Linked DNA regions of Homo sapiens: region 2 is linked to region 1. Evidence: promoter capture Hi-C in human tissues and cell types (Jung and others, 2019). All regions are on one chromosome and are shown on one strand. Each heading gives the region's core, a stretch centred on a gene start or on the middle of the fragment in contact. The rest is flanking DNA. Distances are from core to core; before and after follow the strand shown.

The links. Contacts are between HindIII fragments. The study calls those that stand out against the background at their distance.
Region 2: a contact is called between a fragment that was not itself captured here and the fragment with the promoter of NRP1 in region 1, in 1 of the 25 tissues and cell types used here (dorsolateral prefrontal cortex).

Annotation. Positions count from the first base shown.
Region 1 is chr10:33,333,391-33,336,202 of GRCh38, reverse strand. It overlaps NRP1 (neuropilin 1), which reads left to right and starts at 1,536. Exons shown (of 17, transcript NM_003873.7): 1 at 1,536-1,893. The coding sequence starts at 1,821. The HindIII fragment of the contact is 10,676 bases long and covers 1-2,812 here.
Region 2 is chr10:34,500,408-34,503,165 of GRCh38, reverse strand. All of the region lies in intron 3 of PARD3 (par-3 family cell polarity regulator), which reads left to right. Among named protein-coding and RNA genes, the nearest start is that of PARD3, 310 kb to the left of the region's middle. The HindIII fragment of the contact is 6,066 bases long and covers 1-2,758 here.

The sequences.
Region 1 (2,812 bases), core at 287-2,786:
TGTGCCAGGTAGGAATCAGGCTGTACTTTGGCTGTGTGTGTAGACGCCAATCCCCAGGAGGCGTGTGACCTTTTCACCTTACCCACAAACTCCCTGGGAGGTGCCCCGTGGGCACTGACCCTTCTCCGGGGCCTGATCGGTGACCGCAACCTGTTTCTTCCCAGAAATGTCCTTGCTTTTCGCATCTACAAACGCTTCCTGCAGCACTTCTCGGAAAACCCTCGGGGACGGGCCTGGGGGGCATCCAGCGGGCTGGGGGCACGAGCCGCTGTGGGAAGTGGGGGTGGCAGGAGCTCCAGGGCCGGCGTGCACGTTGTCTGTGGCCGGGAGCGGACACTGAGAGGGCGCAGCGAAGAGCACCCCTCCCCCGCCACTCTTTCCCTCCCTCGGGATGCACAGAGAAACGGGGGCCGCCCGACCCCTGATTTCCACACCCCTCCCTAGCACCTGGGCTCCCAGACAAGGTTGGGCGGGGTCGGGCGGCGATTGCCCCCCTGCTTGGAAGGCGCAGCACCTCCCACCCTCCGGTGTTCCCTCTGCCCCAGAGGAACGGGCACCAAATCTCGGGAAACAATGAAGCCTCCGCGGCGCGCAGAGGGCACCCAGCCGCGCGCCCTGATGCGGGCCAGGGAGGCCGCGTGGGGCTGCAGCCCGGCCTCGCCCGCCCAGGCGGTCTGTCTTCGCTTCACACCACAGCGACACTGCTGCCCCTCGCCCGGCTTCGCGGTGCGGCTCCCACTCCAGCCCGGCTTTCCCCTCCTCGCCCTCCAGCTCTGGGCAGGGGCGTCCAGGGGTGCCCCGCTGCTCCCCGCCACAGGTCTCAGGATGGCGCGATGAGGAGTGGCAGGGGGTGACCCTGCGTTCCTCGCCGCCGAGGGCGCGGGCCCCGGGATTTGAAGTTGCGAGAAGCAGCCGCCACCTCCCGGGCGCTCCGCACTGCGCGGCGGCGGGATCTGCGCCTGCAGGAGCTGCCCAGCTCTCCCTCTAGGGGTGCAGAGCGAGCACGCGAGGTGGGCTGGCCAGACCCTGCGGCTGGCACTGACCTCCGCGCCCCTTCCTCCGACGCCCGCACCCACGCGACCGGGGCGCAGACTCCCAGCGCCTTCCTTCCCGCGGAGATCCCTGCAGGGTCTCTGGGAAAGACAGACAGACGGACGGGGAGAGCACTCGGAGGGAAAGTTGTTCCTCCCAGTCTCCTGTCAGGCAATTACAGGCGAGCCCAAGCGGGGAGAGGGGCGGGAGGAAGCGAGGGAAGGGCTCCGGAGTGGGGGGAGGCCGCAGGAGGGGAGGCGGGGGTGCAGTTGGTGAAACTCCTCTGTCTCCCGCTCATCTTTTCATTGCTCGTTCCCCTCCTTCCCGCAGACACCCGGACCTCCCCTGGGCGCCAGCTCCGCGGCTCCAACGGGTCCAGAAACAAGCCGGATTTTTTTTTTTTCTTCCTGGAAATTGGCTTTGGTGTGTGTTGCCCTACCTCCCTCCTCCCCCTCCCACCCACAGCCCCCCCCCGGCCTTTTTTTTTTTTTTTTTTTTTTTTGAGACATGGCCCGGGCAGTGGCTCCTGGAAGAGGAACAAGTGTGGGAAAAGGGAGAGGAAGCCGGAGCTAAATGACAGGATGCAGGCGACTTGAGACACAAAAAGAGAAGCGTTCCTCTCGGATCCAGGCATTGCCTCGCTGCTTTCTTTTCTCCAAGACGGGCTGAGGATTGTACAGCTCTAGGCGGAGTTGGGGCTCTTCGGATCGCTTAGATTCTCCTCTTTGCTGCATTTCCCCCCACGTCCTCGTTCTCCCGCGTCTGCCTGCGGACCCGGAGAAGGGAGAATGGAGAGGGGGCTGCCGCTCCTCTGCGCCGTGCTCGCCCTCGTCCTCGCCCCGGCCGGCGCTTTTCGCAACGGTAAGTGACAGGCAGAGGCGCGGGTGACAGCGGCGCCCCGGCTCCCAGCTGCCCGCCCCGGACCGGGGCTCAGGCGGGGCTTCCCGGGATCAGCCGGGAACAACCGACTCCCGGGCGAAGGAAACTTTTATCTGGGAGGAGAGAAGAAGAAATGAGATCAGGCGGTTTAGAGCAGGAGGATTTCAGGTCTTTGGGCTCCCTCCTGACGTTGATCCTTGGGCTGTGGGGCTTTTCCTTACCTCTGTTACAAGACAGAGCTGTCTACCTTCCCAGATCAGCATGCCAATTATCTTAATAATGTTTCCTCCCAAAGGCAATTAGAAGAGACTCCCTTTCAAAAATCTGATGGCTGTTGAAAGTTAATGAACACTTTACCAGGAGATCTTACTTCCTGGTTCCTTTGCTGCTCCCCTAAGCCGTTTCCTCTGGTGGGTGACGGCCAGAGATATCGGTTTGTGGGTTGATGAAACTCCCTCCCCCGCCTTTGTACACCTTCCGTAATCTGTCTGGAGTATGACTGAAAGTTACATAGTATCAATACAGGAATCTGACATATACAGTGTAAGGCACCAGGATATCTGAAAATCCCTAAGCTAGTTGCAGCTTCCACTTAGCTTTTAAAATCACTCACTGTTAAGTAAATGAAAAACTATACTGGGGTCTAAACAGTACCATGTAACCTAAATAATGTGTTTTAAAATGGGATCTGGTTGTAGGCATGTTTGACTTCACACTGTAAAGTAAGTGCAGGCAAGGGTATGCAATTATCTTTACAGTAAGTCGTCAGCAATTGTTATTAACTAATGATCAAATATTTACTTTTGTCTGGCTTAGATTTCAATCACAGTAATTAGAAGAAAAGAACATCCACTACTTACTGTGGTATATTGTTTTAATAAGAGACCGCAAGTGGAGGGCC
Region 2 (2,758 bases), core at 193-2,692, 1.2 Mb before region 1:
GTTATAGCCTAATGATTTGTGGCTTAGAACAAGGAAAACCAGCTGGTGATCAGTTTGTCTAAGTAGTACATGAGTATCTACTAATATTTGATAATAGCCAATTTTTTTTAATAACCAGAATAAGGGAGTTGGGAATGGGAGGCAGAAACAAGGACACTGAGGCATAAAACTGCATTTAATTCTGAGTATGGGTCTGTGATCCATGGTTCAGTTGGATCCCTTATGAGGAGAGGGAGGAAAGCCAGCTGGGCAGAGATATGCATGGGCCTGTGTCTGTGCTTCTGCCAGAAAAGAAGTCACCAGCTCTGCCTTCCTCACTTCTCCCCCTTGTCTAAGATCTGTCCTTCTCTTTTCTTCAAAAGTGGGAAATTAGTTTAATCAAAGTTGTTGTTTTTTGTTTTTGTTTTTTTTGAGATGGGATCCTGCTATGTTGCCCATACTCAAGTAATCCTCTCTCTGAGCCTCCCCAGTAGCTGGGACTATAGGTAGTCACCACCACACCTAGCCAAGTCTAATGTATAGTTTATTTTTTCCAATTTTGGAAAGCAGGGTATATGTAGTTCTGAGTGTCTGTGTGTGTGTGTCTATATATCGCTACACACACAATTAGTACTAGTCTATTCTTGCTATAACAAATCATCATCATGTTAGGGCTTAAGAGTTTATTACAGTCCTGCATGTCAGAGTCTGGTGTGGATCTCACTGGGCTGAAATCCAGGGTTGGCAGTGCTGCCTTCCTGCGGGAGGCTCTAGGTGAGAATCTGTTTTCTTGCCTTCTCCAGATTCTGGAGTCCACTTGCCTTCCTTCGTGTATGGCCCTTCCTCCATCTCTAGCATTATCAACCTTGTACCTTGTGGACCCTTCTTCTATGGTTACATCTCTCTCTGACTCTTCCGTTCTGACCTTCTCTTCCACGTTTAAGACTCATGTGACTACATAGTCTTGAATTGAGTGAGACTCAGGATCATCCAAATGAGCCCACTGTCTAAGTCCATTCAGGCTGCTTCAACAGAATACCTTAGACTGGGTGGCTGATAAACAACCAAACCTCATTTCTCATGTCCTACAGGCTGCGAGTGCAAGATCAAGGTGCCAGCAGTTTTGGTGTCTAGTGAAGGCTTGCCTTCTCATAGATCTTTACTTCTCAATATGTCTTTACATGGTGGGAGGAGCAAACAAGCTCTATTGGGTCATTTTAATAAGGGCACTAATCCAAGTCATGAGGACACAGCTTCCCACAAGGCCCCACATCCTATACCATCACCTTGGGGATTAGGATTTCCACTCTTGAGTTTTGGTAGACACAACATTCATTCCATACCACTAGGGTAATGTCCTGATGCCAAGGTCTTTACCTTAATCACATGTATGATGTAAGGTAACATGGCAGGTTCTAGGGATTAAGATGTAGACATCTTTTTTTTTTTGGCGGGGAGGAGGGTGGGAGGGCATTATTTTGCCTACCACATTTTACATGCATTTAAATATTTACGGTAGTGTGAAAATAACGCACTTTACAAATACATCGTCTTCCATGATAATATGAAATGAGCATCTGACCTAGTGATATTAATGGGCTGATCATTTTGATTTCAGTATTTTGGGAAGGAAAGTAATGAACAGTAATGATCTAGTGAGTGTATTCACCCATTCTTACATTGCTATAAAGAAATACCTGGGACTGGGGTAACTTTCATTGGCTCACTGTTCTGCAGGCTTTCTAGGAAGCATGCCATTGGCATCTGCTTGGCATCTAGGGAAGCCTCTGGAAGCTTATAATCATGGTGAAAGTTGAAGGGGGAGGAGGCACGTCACATGACGAAAGCAGGAGCAAGTCGGGCAGAGGGGGGTGCCACACACACACTTTTAAATGATCAGATATCCTGAGAACTCATTGTCATGAAGACAGCACCAAACCATGAAGGAATCGTCCCCAGGATTCAGACACCTCCCACCAGGCCCCACCTCCAGCATTGGGGATTACAGTTCAACATGAAATTTGGGCAGGGGGCAAGTATCCAAGCCATATCAGTGAGTATTTCTTTGAGACCATTTTTTATTTAGGTGAGCCATATGGGGCAATATTTGTACAAATAAAACTCTAGCCATTATATAATTGTGGTTGCTTGATAAAAAACAAAAATCTGTGGTAACAAATTAGTTATTTTTAACTCTTTTGCACAATTAAAAGTAATATAGTAATTTTTTAGTGCTGTAGATGGGAAATTTTGATGAGAAAAATTATGTACAGGTTGTGAATATTGTGCATGTTAGGAAGTTTCATTCTTTCACTGGTACTCTCTCTTGTTCAAGCTCTCCTCTTTCCTTCTGTATGACTTATTTTACTTTTAGGCATTAAATTATTGTTACACAAGTTACGTTACTGTATTCATTTTATGTTATTATAATTTATGTTATTTTATGTAACTTTTGTTATTGGAACATAACAGACTGGAGTGCAGTGGTGTGATCTTGGCTCACTGCAGCCTCCATGCCCTGGGTTCAAGCTGTTCTCCCACCTCAGCCTCCTGAGTAAGCTAGGATTACAGGCATGAGCCACCACACCCAGCTAATTTTTGTATTTTTGTAGAGATGAGGTTTCACCATGTTGGCCAGGCTGGTCTCAAACTCCTGACCCCAGGTGATCTGCCTGCCTTGACCTCCCAAAGTGCTGGGATTACAGGTGTGAGCCACCGTGCCTGGCCTATTTTAGACAATTTTAATAATTCTGTTTTGGACAGAAACTTTAAAAATGGT